Regions from separate parts of the Homo sapiens genome. Here region 1 is linked to region 2. The links are contacts of gene promoters, found by promoter capture Hi-C in blood cells and fetal thymus (Javierre and others, 2016). All regions are on one chromosome and are shown on one strand. The core of a region is centred on a gene start or on the middle of the fragment in contact, and the rest is flanking DNA. Distances in the headings are between cores, read along the strand shown.

Region 1 (5,408 bases), core at 2,909-5,408, 4.6 Mb before region 2:
TCACTTGGAAAAAAAGCAGAAACACTGCTTCTTCCCATCTTGATTAACAGTGCTCTACTTAAAAAAGAAAACGAACATATTTCCAAATGTCCACATCTAAAGATGGAGAGCAAGAAAACAGAGCTGGATTCATTCAGGATGTTGCTGCTATCTGAAGGACTGATGTCGAATTCAGGAACCCAGTGAGGAGAGAAAGGAAGAGGGATCACCAGGGCCTTCTTCAGGGTGATGATGTGTTCCCAAGGCCACCTGGAGAGAGGCCTGGGGCAGCAAAAAATCAGCACACTTGCCTGCCTCACCAGGCTGCTGTCTGGTATCATCTCTTCCGTTCATTTCTGAGGTATTTTCTGAGGCCCTCACACTCTGAGGAAGCCCAGATGCCTGAGATGTCACAAAGCCATGCTGTACTTCAGAAGAGATGTCACAGAGAAGGACACCCCTCAGGAGTCATGGCCAAAGGTCATGTCCCATGTGCCTAGCTGGGAGGGACAGGTCCCCTAATGCCAAATATCTGGCTGCTACTCCACTTTGCAGACAGAAAACTCAGCTTTGTCTGCTCTCTCAGACCTCTGTCAACCTAGGAAAAGTGACACACACTGAACAAACACCACATGAGCTGTGTGTTTAAGTCATGTGGTTGCCTTTTGAAGGAGAGGGAGCTGGATAGAAAACTGGATTGAGCCAGACAACTACCCAGGGTACTCCCTCTACAACCAGATCAAGCCATTGATGAGAAGAATGTTAGGTGAACACAGAACCCAACGGGTAGTGCTGGGTCCACTCTGGGAGGCCTTCTGTTCAGCCGCGTGACCTGAGGGACAGAACGTAGCTCCTCTATAACCAAGGAACCTGGCAAACTATCCAAGAGGAGTGTCTTAGCACCCAGAACCCTACCTCAACCCCTTGCAGTGGTGGTCCTTATTGTAGGCCCCAGCTCTAATACCACTGATGGTTCCCTTTCATTCCCAAGGCCCTGCCCAGCTTACCTCCATTGACAGATCATCTTCCCAAGGTTAGGTTCCAGGTAACCCAGCTCATTTCTTGTGCACTTACTGGCCAGTTTTGATGTCAAATAGACGACGATGTCTTCTTTGATCTCCCCTCCTATTCTCAAGACCCCTCTTCCTGCTGGTCACATGCAGTATGTGATTAAGGTTGATGGAGGGATGAAGACCATAATGCTGTAAGGTCAGAGAGGGACTGGTCACTGAGGTAAAAGCAGGGGATCTGGAGAGAGAAGACTAAAGGCTAGGCCCAGGCTCTGTACCTGACCACCTATGCAGCGTCTGACAAGTCACCCAATTCTTCTGTGCTTCAGTTTTCACACACGTAAAATGAGGCTGGTAGTGCTGTACCTTCAGGCAGATGTATTTTGTAAATTGCCAAGTGCTCTGAAAATGTTGGTTGTTATCCTTGTGGACTGAAGTGTTCTGGGAAGAAGCAGAATATAAAGTTGGCCTTAAAGGTTGAGGAAGATTCAGGACATGTGGTCAGGAAGAGGATGGGCACTCCGGGATGGGAAACAGCATGAGCAAAGGCAAAAATGCAAATGGGATATACCAGGCACGGCTGCAGTAGAAAGCTTGTGTAAGGGAGAGGCTGGGGTAAGGCTGGAAAGGCAAGTGGGCTATATTCTGTTGGTCATAAGGAGCTACCGAACTTTTTGATCAAGTAAAAGAATGAAAGTCATGTTTTCGGAATACTAACGTGGTGGAGGTGTGAAGGATACAGAAATTGGAGGAGGGTTAGAATGCAGGCAGAGTGAACAAAGGAAGGTGTTGTAAACTCCAGTTAAGAGATATGATGGGGGCCTGAATGAAGGCAGGGCACTAAGGCTTAAACAGAGGAAGCACATTGGGGAGATACAGAAACAAAAGGATAGGGTGACAGTGTAGTAGAAGAAGAGAAGGCTTGGGGACAATTTTCATTATCTAGGTGGACAATGGTGCCACTCACCAAGACAGAGAATAAAGGAGAAGGCACCAGTGAGCAGTGCAGATTGAGTTCTTTGGATATGTTTACTTTGTCTGTAGAATGTCCAAGGAATACTAACCAGTAATTAAGTGACCATATGGGTGTGGAGCTCAGCAATAAGGATGTGAATTGAAGCCACCCAAGAAGACCATGTACTGTGAAAAGATAAGGACAAGGACAGAAGGCTGAGGAACATCAACATTCAAATGGTGGACAACGCTGGATGGAAGAACCTGAAAAGAAGACTGAAAAGTGACCAAAGAGTAGGAGGAAGGCAAGACTTTTTCTAGAAAAAGACGCCAACAGATTAAAGTACAACAGAAAGAACAAGTGATATGAAGAATAGGAAGAGTCCAATTTGGCAATTCGTTCATTAATGACATTAGTAAGAGCAATTTCACTGAAGTCACAGGCTGTGAGCTAGACCGCAGTGAACAATGGATGGGAAGGTGCAAATGGGCAGGATTTGTAGACTACTCTTTTGGGGAGCTTGGCTGTAAGGGCAAGGACATGGGAGAATTTTGGAATTTTTTTTTTTTTTTTTGAGACGGAGTCTCGTTCTGTCGCCCAGGCTGCAGTGCAGTGGCGCGATCTCGGTTCACTACAAGCTCCGCCTCCCGGGTTCACGCCATTCTCCTGCCTCAGCCTCCCGAGTAGCTGGGACTACAGGCGCCCACCACCACGCCCATCTAATTTTTTGTATTTTTAGTAGAGACGGGGTTTCACCGTGTTAGCCAGGATGGTCTCGATCTCCTGACCTCGTGATCCGCCCGCCTCGGCCTTCCAAAGTGCTGGGATTACAGAAGTAAGCCACCACGCCCGGCCAGAATTTTGGATATTTTAGCTAAAATATATTTTAGCTGAAGGGGGCAAGACAAAGAAAAATAAATAAATACACGCTCACACATACACACAGAGAATAACTGAGGGGATGGGATTTTAAAAATTTATTTCATTTTTCCCATGGGATCTATTAATAGACTAGCGAGGGGATGGGATCTTGAACACTGGTTGAAGGAACCGACTTAAGAGCGAAGACATGCTGCTATTAGCGAAGACAGGGAGGTGAGGGTAAGTTCATTTATTCACTCAACAATCACTAGTTGAGTGTGGATTAAAAAAAACAGTCCTTGACCACATAAGGAATTAGGTCTAGTAGGGAAGACAAACGTAGGTCAATAAATTACATAAGGGTTATACTAGATTGTGTGGTGGTACAGGTGGGGAAGCGAGCAACTGTCTGCATTGTGTCCAGGAAAGGGTCACAGGCGTGTTATGTAGATTCTGGAGAAAATTCAAAAATAGCATTTATTTTTACTTATTTACTTTTGTATGTGGAGACGAGGGTCTCACTATGTTGCCCAGGCTGGTGTTGAACTACTCGCCTCAAGAAATCCTCCCGCCTCGACCTCCCAAAGTGTTGGGACTACAGGTGTGAGCCACCGCGCCTGGCCTAAATGTGGCATTTAGAAAAAGTATTTACAACATCTGCATTAAAAGGACCATAAAGCAACCAGGCATCTAAGTCCCTGAAGCAATTTAAGTTGCTCAAACTTGAGAGGACAACCAAATGATAGCAAAAGGGCAAAAGAGAAAGGAAGCTGCAGTGCCCACTCAGAAGTGTGAGAGCGGGAGAAGGCATTTCGGGAGCCGCCCGAGCTTCAGGAAACCGAGCGAGACACCAGGTGGGCACACTGAGGATTAAAGAGGGCCTCGCGGTTCCGCACTGCGGCCGGGAGACAAACCAGTAGCCACTATCACCAGCCCCGGGCAGACCACTAAGAACTGTGGAGGTGCGCGGGGCGGCTCAGGGCTGGCGCATTTGGTGAGGAGCTCAGACAACGAGGCCCTTAGGGTCGGCTTAGGCGGTTCCCTGACCAAGGCGCCAGAAAAGGGCCTGGCTCAAGCAAGCACGGGCGGCGTGCAGTACAGCACACCTAGCCCCGATTCTTCAACAGTTCTCGCCCTCCGAGCCTAGCACAACGAGCCTCACCGAAACCGTACACCGCCACCAGGACACTCCGTGATGGGGGATCACCACCCTCAGAAAGAGGAAGCGACTAGCAGGCGCGCAATCCCGCGAGACCAGGAGGCCCCGCCCGAAGCCCGGCCTCTGTGACCGGAAGTGAGGCGTTTTGCCCCGCCCCCGTGGCCGATACCTCGCGAGACTTGGCGAAGGCCTTCCTTTTTCGTCTGGGCTGCCAACATGGTAGGTGTTTCGTTTCTTGCCTCCTCTTCCTTGCCGGCGGAGACCCCTAAGCTGTATTCCCATTGCCCCTAGTCATCCACTCCCTACCATGGTCGGGGCTTCCAGGCTGCGCATGGCCGCCTGCGGGGCAGGGTGGCCGGCGCGGGCCCGGGGCGGGGCTCCCGGAGCCGTGTGTTAGGCCCGCGGTTCGGATCTCTAGGACACGCGGGCCCCTGCGCTACCGTGGTGAGACCTCACGGCCCTGAGCGGATCGGTACCCTCAGCTTTCCCAAACGCTCCAGAAGTTAGGTCTTTGACCCACAGGCTTACAGGACCATCTCGGCTGGCGGGCATCGCCCCCTGCCCCTAATTCCTTAGGCCTTACCACCAAGCTTTTTCCACACAGCCATCCAGACTGAGGAAGACCCGGAAACTTAGGGGCCACGTGAGCCACGGCCACGGCCGCATAGGTAAGTGCCGGCTTCCCCTCGGGGTGGGCCTTGGGCTCTCTTCGGGTGCTTAGCTAGTCTGGAGATCGGTAGCCTATAAGTGGGTTAGAATAAGACCTTTTTGTGGTCAAGTTGCACAGCTGTTGATTTTTTTCTGACGATCCTCTAGTATTCCAGTTCTAAGGAATTTCACATCAGTGGGGTAATAGGAATTGAGCAGGCACGGTATTGGGTTAGTTGAAGACATGGAGTACTGTGGGAATGCTGTGATGTGGAACCTGAAAAGATGTTTCACCCGGAATCCTAAAGTAATCGCATTGCTGAAAACCGGCATCGGTAGGGTGGGAACAGCGTAAGCGGGACACAGAAGTCTGGGAAACACTCTGCTTTTGTGCGAGGAAGTATTGAGATGCATGAGAAGGCTGTGTGGTGCATGTAGCTTTTTTGTGTGTGTGTGAGACTGATCACTGTCGCCCAGGCTGGAGTGCAGTGGCGAAATCTCGGCTCACTGCAACCCCTGCCTGCCGGGCTCAAGCGATTCTCCTGCCTCAGCCTCCCGAGTAGCTGATATTACAGGTGTGCGCCACGACGCCCGGCTAATTCTTTTTCTATTTTTAGTAGAGTCGGGGGTTTCTCCGTGTTGGCCAGGCTGGTCTCGAACTCCTGACCTCAGGTGATCTACCCCCCCTCGTCCTCCTAAAATGCTGGGATTACAGGCATGAGCCATCACACCGGCCCCACGTAGCTTTGTATTCCTGCAGGCAAGCACCGGAAGCACCCCGGCGGCCGCGGTAATG
Region 2 (7,745 bases), core at 1-2,500:
CCAGTCTGGGTAACAGAATTAGGCCAATTTATTTAATTCCATTTGTTCATGTATCCAGCCAACAGATATTTATGGTGCACTTGTTGGGTGCCAGCCCCGCCCCCACCACTCCACCCTACCCCAGCAGGCGCTAAAGGAGAGCTGACATGATGGATAACGAAAAAGAAGACGCTGTCCTTCTATTCAGGGAGTTTAACATCTGGAAGAGCCGGGAGTTCTTTGTGCTAAAGGCCCTCTACAAAGTGCCTGAGATGCAAAAATAAGTCACTTTCTCTGTCCTCTCAGCAACCGAGTCGCATGTCGTTATCAAATTTTTATTTTCTGTAACTGTTTCCTTCCGTCTTGCTCCGTAGACAGCTTTTTGCAGCAGAGAGCGCTGCCGCGGGGCTGGTGTCTACTCTTCAGTAAGTGGTCAAAACCTGGCTACTGGAAGGAAATGCAATGGAATCGCTCCGCGCTCGAGTATTCTCTTTGGAACTACGGGAATGACAGCTCCAGTGGGACACTTGGAGGTCATGATGAACGCAAAGAACGTGAGAACACTTGCAGTCCTCGGGGTGGAAATGCCTTCTAGAAATACTAAGTATCCGTTCTCTCGTTGAGACTTTGGCAAACCAGGGATTTTAGGAAGGGTCTGGCACTCAACGTTCCTAAAATTGGTTTCCTAGATGGAGCCGGAGGGAGAGAGGGAGTCAGGAACTGCTGCTTTTCGTCGGAATGCCCGGAGGGGAGAAGAAGAAGGAGGAGGGGTGAGGGCGGGCGGCCAAACGCCAGCCGGCAGGGGACCCAGAGAAGAGGGACATCCCGGGCGACCCCGAGGAGCGCGGCTTGGGCACCGCAGTGGCCGCGGCTAGTGGGAGACCTGAGGGGAAAGGGAGAGGGCAGGGGCGAGGAACCCAGGGAGCGCGCGCGGATTGGTCCTCTCCTCGGGGCGTGCGCTCCTGTGCGCCAAATGATTGGTGGCAGGAAAGTAGCAGGTAAACCGGCTCCCGCCGCCTCGCCATTGGTCAGCGGCCTCTCTAGCCGCCACACAACTGGCCAGCGGGCTGCCGAGCCGCGCGCGGATTGGCTGGGGGCGGCCGCCGGGACCGGCTCCCTTCGGGCGTTCGGATTGGCTGGCGGGAAGAGGCAGGTATCCGGGCGCTGCGGCTCCTCCATTGGTGGGCGGGGAAGGGGGGTTGGGCACAGCGATTGGTGGGCGGGGGGCCGGGCCTGGGCCGGCGGGGAGCGGATTGGTCGGAAAGTAGGTTAGTGGTGCGACATTTAGGGAAGGCAGAAAGTAGGTCAGGGACGGAGGTGCCTGTTTACCCGCGCCGGACTCACCGCCGCCGCCGCCGCGGGATCCGAGTGCGGGCGCGGGCGCGGGCGCTCCCGGCGAGCCACGGTGAGTGTCAGGCCGGCGGCGGCCAGCGACGCGATCCCGCGCACCCCGTCGGGGGCCGTTAGCACCCTCGCGGGCGCTGCGCCCCTGCCGCCGCCCCGGGGGCAACCCGGCCGCCGAAGAACCCTGCCCGACGTGCCCGCTGCCGGCCTTAAAGGGCCCGTGACCGCTCCCTGCCCCCACCCGGGCCGTGGGGAGGCTGCGCCCCTTAAAGGCGCCGCGCCCGTCCGCCCCCATCCTCCTCGCGGGGGCTGCCGCTGCGGGCTAGGGCAGGCAGAGGTGCTGCAGGAGCCCTTAAAGGGGCCGGGAAAGTGTTCGCTGGAGTACCCACCGCCCTTCCGCGGGCATCGCTACCTGGCGGGGGGAGGGGGCAGCTAGCTGCCTCTTAAAGGGATAGCTCTGCCCTTGGGGGCAGTGACTCGGCCGAAGAGGACTCCTAGATGTGTCCCCGGGAGCTTCGGGGATCCCCGAGGGGACCATGCCTGGTGGCTGCCCCTCAAGGGCGTTGGGCGAACGGTGCCGCGTCTGCCCTTCCTCCCCGCTTCACTTCCCTTTCGGGAGCCCGCGAGGCTGGGTGGGGGCGGGGAGGGCGTCTCCGTCGGGCTTGGGGAGTCCAAGTCCGCCCGCCCCTTCGGCCCTGTAGCCAGGGCTGGCGCTGCACCCGGGAATCCCCGGCCGGCACGGGGCCGACCCCAGCCTGCGAACTTTCGTGGGGCCTGTGCCGTCCAGGTCCTGGGCGGCCCTCAAGGATGCCCCGTGGGTCTGCGGGCAGGTGCGCGTCGGCCTGGGGATGTCGCCCGGAGCCCGGGTGCGGGCCGGCCTTGGAGTCCCAGAGCTCCGCGGAGGGCGCAGCGAGCCTGGCTCCAGCTCCGGGTTTGACAGATGTCAGGGAAGAAAAGGTTCCCGCTCGGCTATTGCCGGGCGTTGACATCCCAGAGAGCTTCCCGTTTGCTTGGAAGAAGACGAGGAAGGTAGAGGTGAACGTCGACCTTGTGGGGCGCATGTTAGCCTCCCCGAGGGGTCGCGAGAGCCGGCAGCGGGGTGAGCTCAGGTGCCCGCCGGCAGGAGCTGGGGAGGGAAGGGGAGTGCTGGACACCGGCGCCTGCTGTCAAGTTCTCGCCGGCCGGTGAGAGACCCGCTGCCGCCGCGCACCCCGCACCTCCTGACCCCTCTCCCCTCTCCGCCTCGGCCCCTTCCCGGTCACCTAGCGTTGTTTTGGCGCTTTGGCGCTTGCGGTCTCTTCCTTCTTCCACCGCTACTCCTCAGCGAGGAATTATTAGCCAAGTTTTCTCACCCAGCTTCCAAAAATCAGATTCCGTATTTGTGAACAAGCTTTTCTTGACACTACCCGTATACCCGTATTTCCAGCATCGTCGTTTTATTAAACATCCATAAAAGCTGCCCCTTAGATGCATTCATTTCCCACGACACCTGCTTGCTTGTCATTTGTCCTTCTGACATCTGCTGTTGTTCACCCCTTTAATCTATTATTAAATGACAACTATTATTTTAATTCTTCTGGTCTCATTGATATCCGGATCTGTGAATTTGGGTTGGTGGAGTTTTTAATTAATGTACCCGTTGAATCATGAGCTTAAAATAATCATTGCTGCTCCTGAGCAGTTTTGAATAATATCATGCTCTCTCTGCTTGCAAGACTTAAAAAAATTCGCTGGTGTTATATTTGATTTCCATATCAATGGAATTCCCAAATATTTTTGAAAATACAAAATTCAGTCTTTCAGTCCATGTTTTGTTACTCAGATCATTTTACTGATAAGTCTTTAACGCAGCTTATAGAACATATTTAGAAGGTTTGGAAATTTCCTGGACAGGATTTGAAATTGCCTGTATCATCTGAAGCTGGTTCTGTAGAAGCATTTTGGTTTTGATTGTAGATGCAGCCAGTGAATGATAACAATAAGTTAAAACTGTAGTTAAATTTGTTCTTTATTCAACCCTCTGAAGAACGAACAGATCTGGTAGAAAAGCACTAACCTGGGAGTTAGGAGCTGGACATCCTGGTTCTAGTTTAGGCTTGGGCTCTCATGGCCGTTCCAGTCGGGGCAAGTTATTAAAGATTTCTAGGTTGTGTTTGCCTCTGATGGAAAGTAAGACGGTTGAACTAGGTGATCTCAAAGGTTCCTCTCTTTTGAAGTTCTGTAAGTCTCTAAATATTTAATACATTTGAATTCAGGTTGGTATTTACCTCCTGGCACCTCCAGAATATCTGAGCTGAAGCCCTATTTTCATAAGAAAGTTAAGCAGATCAACAGATGGTGTTTTGAAGAATCCATTTCAAATGATTTATAAAATGATGACTACTTACGAGTTTGTCTGCTATTTGCAGAAGAGGTTTGCATGCCACAGGGCAGGAAAAGGAAGTGGCCATGTTTTCAGATTTATCCCTTCACACCAACAATCTCTGTGGAATTTATATGCTAAAAGATGGAGAAGCACCATAGAAAGATTTGGCTGTATTAACAAAACTGCATATGAAAAGGTAAAAACTAGATAGTTAATATCTCTCTTTGGTGTAAGGGTTATAATGTATCTGAGCTTTCTTTGTGATTTCATCATCAACTCTCACTGTGGTAGGAAAATCAATATTAAATAAACAGTTTCAGCCCCGTGATTACATGCAGTGATTTTAGGAAGCATCATGATAACTAAAGTAGGTACTTGCAGGGAAGTAAAATATCCTTTCTAGACCTTGAGGTTTCGTTGGGAGCTAGGGACACAGGCATGTTATCCTTCTCCACAGTCTTTTTTCATTGTCACCTTATCACAAGACTCAGATTTATCCCAAATACCCACCTTGTCTTTTCTTCTCCCTCTCATGAAATAAGACCTGCTCTGACTCAACCCCCTCAGCATCTCTTACTTCCCACCCAAAATGTCCTGTCTCTATCCCCATCGTCCCCTCATCTCCTCCCAATTCAGAGAAAGCAAGTGGACCTCTCCTCTGTTCCTTTTCTTGGCCTCTCACCATGGGCAAGTGCCTGGGCTCTGGTGGCAGAAGAATCCATGGCTCAGGTTTGGGCTTTGTGGTCTTGGATGTGTGCTTGACTCCTCTGACCTCAGGTTTCTCCTCTTGGTGTAATGGCAGTGCCTGCCTCGTGGAGTCTGTGTGAGGATTAAGGGAGATGGTGCATGTAAAAGGCCTGGCACACAGGAAGCCTTTCCTTTGTGCCAGCTGCCATTCCTTCTCACCTCTACCCGGGTCCTATCACTAGAATATTATTTGTGCTGTTTGTCCTTAGTCTCCCCTGCCCCACCCTGAAAACCTTAGGCTTGACTTAGGAGAGGAAGGATGGAAGAGGCAGAGTCAGACTTGTGGTGAGCCTGCTGTGTACCAGGCAATTTACATGTGTCTTTACTTGGTACCCTGGGTTCGTAAGCCTCTCTTTCCTCCCTCCTGCCAGCCTCCCCCACTCTCCCATCTCCTGCTCCATTCTTAGTACCTGCCCTCTGGCTTCTCTCGCTACCACCTTTCTTTATATTTCTTCTCAAAGTTTTCTCCAAAACTTTGTCGTGAGTTCCTGGGGCCCATCTGCCCATCCTTATTCCTGAGTGGTTGTTCTTGGCCCCTTTGCAGTATTTCTTTTATTTTTTTAAACATGGTCTCAGTCTTGCCTGGTTGGAGTGCAGTGGTGCAATCGTGGCTCACTGCAGCCTCCCAAGTCTCAGGTAATCCTCCTGCCTCAGCCTCCAGAGTAGCTGAGCCTACAGACACGTGCCATCACACCTGGCTCATTTTTGTATTTTTATTAGAGATGGAGTTTTGCCATGTTGCCCAGGCTGGTCTCAAACTCCTGGGCTCAAGTGACCCACCTGCACTGGCCTCCCAAAGTGCTGGGATTACAGGCGTGAGTCACTGTGCTCAGCCCCTTTGAAGCTTTTACCTCACTTGTTTTTTGTCCTTTGAAATCCTTTCCTCTCTCAGCCTTTGGGTCATGCTGGTTTCTTGATTCTCTTCCTGCACCCCTGTAAAGATAAATGTCTGTCCTAGCTTCTGCTATTCACACTGTCCGTGGCCTGGGGTCCCCTCTCTAGCCCTGACCTGTCTCTCCTGTGTTCTGCTAGCAGGTCCGTTGTGGACATGAATGGCAGCCTGTAATCTGCATTTGTGGTCTCGGAGTTACAGGTTTGCAGACTGCTTGCAAGCACTGTCACATTGAGTCCTCATGACACACTGGAGCCTACATCCCTTCATTCCCCAGGCTGTCCTAAAAGGCAGTTTGGTTGGGTAGTTTAGCATACAGACTCTGGAGCCAGATTTCACATCCTAAGTATTCCCTACTGGCTTCGTGACTTGTGGTCAATTTTCTTTTGCTCTCTATGCCTTGGTGTCCTCATCTATAAAACTGGGATCATAGTAGCCCCTACATCAGAGAGTTGAGGTGTGGATTAAATGAGTTAAAGCATTGGAAAAAGTGTGCCAGTCTATTCATGGCACATTGCAAACACTCAGTGAATGTTGCTGTCAGTCTTGCTGCTCTTCGTTGCCTTGCCGGGGTGCCTTGGCCTGGTTTGTAGTGGTCTCCACATTCAGCCTGCCTGTCTGCCAGACCTTGCCATGTGCCTGGACACTGTAGTCAAGCTGAGGGGCTGTCCATTCCCTGTACCAGCCCTTGGCCCAGTCCATCCCTCAATTTTCACGTGTCCAAATCCTCCTCTGCTTTTAGGACCCAGGGCCTTGGTCCTGCAGCACTATTTCTTCATTTTGTTTTCCTTCCTCCCCACACCTGGCAGCAATGTCCACATTGATTTTTCTCCAATTCTCTTAGGTTCTGCTGCATTCCATATTGTGTTGGGCTGTCTCTGAAAATATCTCACCTGCTCGCTCAGCCTGAGCATTCTGGGAGAAGTTTATCTTGCTTTTTCCAAAATGACAGGCACAGGGAGCCTTTAGGCCATGGTTGTCCAATGCACATTGATCTTGTGGAGGAGGAGATGGGATGGGGTGGGCACTCAGGGACGGAGCAGGTGGAGGGAACAGGATGCACACTGCATAGAGGTGGGGGTGCAACAGGGCCATAAGTGGACATGGCCGTAAGTACTTAGGTCTGCATGGAAGGAGGGTTTGAATTGGGGACTTAACCTCAGGGGGAGATAAGATTGGATAAGGTTTAGTCATCTTTGCTGCAGGGGAACGTTGAGTACTGGCATGTAATGGAGAGTGGTTTTTACCTTAGTATGTGCTGTCCTTTTAAATAGTGTAAACTAATTCTTTATCTAGCCTGGTTAAAGAAGGGGATGGCTGGTCTGCCTAATTTAATATTTGGCTATTGCTCTACCCACTGGGTTTTGTGCATATACTGAATGAAGCATTGGCTTGTATTTATTCCTTCAATCACTGTTTGAAATGTCTGACCTGGGCAAGTTAATTAGCTTCTCTGAGTGCAAAATAGGAATAATAATTATTACGATAATAGCAGCTAACATTTATTGAACACTTTCTATGTGCCAGCACATATGTGAGTCACCTTTGCTTATTAACTCATTTAAACCCCATAACAACTACATGAGGCAGGTACTATTATCCTTACTTCACAAATGAGGTGGTTTTATAAACTGCCCAAGGTCACTCAGCTGTTATGGCTTGGGGCAGAATTTGTGCTGGTGAACTCCAGAGTCTGCCCTGTAACACCCTAGTAGATTCCTACTGGGAGGAAACACCCCGTTATATCCCTTACCTCACTCAGCCGCACCATGCCAGGAGCCTAGTAGGCTGACAGCAATTGGGAACCAGTCTTATTGTTGACAAACATGGTATGAGCCTCTTTTAGAGCGGAGCTGCCTGAAACCCTCCGCATAAGGGATGCGGACCTGGATGCTACCTGAGCAGCAGCTCCAGGGGCTTGTGAACATTCTCCTCACATCCTGTTATGCATGGCTGTCTCTCTGGCCTCCCCCTGCTTTCTCTGCAGCATTGCTCTGACCCAGGCCCCCTGTGGCTCAGCCAGCTCCTCCCCAGGCAGCTCCTTGTGTGAGATGAACCTTTTAACATAACTCACTAACCCCACCTCCCACCCTCATCTAGCCATCTGCAGAGCTCCTCACTGGGGAGGGGACCTTTTCAAAGGTCCCTCACCTTCGTCCTTTTCTCCCTGAAGACCAACGTCCACAACTTTGGTATATCCACAGTGTTGGGGTGTGTGTGTGTGTGTGTGTGTGTGTGTGTGTGTATATATATGTGTGTGTGTATATATATATATATGTGTATATATATATATGTGTGTATATATATATATGTGTATATATATATATGTGTGTATATATATATGTGTATATATATATATATGTGTGTGTATATATATATATATATATATATATATATATATTTTTTTTTTTAATGCCA

The links. The method cuts DNA at HindIII sites, captures the fragments that hold promoters and counts their contacts. A CHiCAGO score of 5 or more calls a contact.
Region 1: a contact is called between the fragment with the promoter of RPL27A here and the fragment with the promoter of BMAL1 in region 2, in 2 of 17 cell types (fetal thymus and total CD8 T cells). The highest score is 7.1, in fetal thymus.

Annotation. Positions count from the first base shown.
Region 1 is chr11:8,678,634-8,684,041 of GRCh38, forward strand. It overlaps RPL27A (ribosomal protein L27a), which reads left to right and starts at 4,159. Exons shown (of 5, transcript NM_000990.5): 1 at 4,159-4,183; 2 at 4,569-4,632; 3 at 5,373-5,408. The coding sequence starts at 4,181. TRIM66 (tripartite motif containing 66) reads right to left here and starts at 4,032. Exons shown (of 25, transcript NM_001388022.1): 1 at 3,968-4,032; 2 at 1,268-1,430; 3 at 987-1,181. RefSeq lists enhancers at 3,589-4,788, 3,652-3,721, 3,922-4,111, 4,438-5,080 and a silencer at 4,232-4,431. The HindIII fragment of the contact is 2,972 bases long and covers 1,581-4,552 here.
Region 2 is chr11:13,276,540-13,284,284 of GRCh38, forward strand. BMAL1 (basic helix-loop-helix ARNT like 1) reads left to right here and starts at 1,251. Exons shown (of 20, transcript NM_001297719.2): 1 at 1,251-1,384. RefSeq lists silencers at 852-1,501, 1,572-1,641, 1,922-2,261. The HindIII fragment of the contact is 3,232 bases long and covers 1-2,711 here.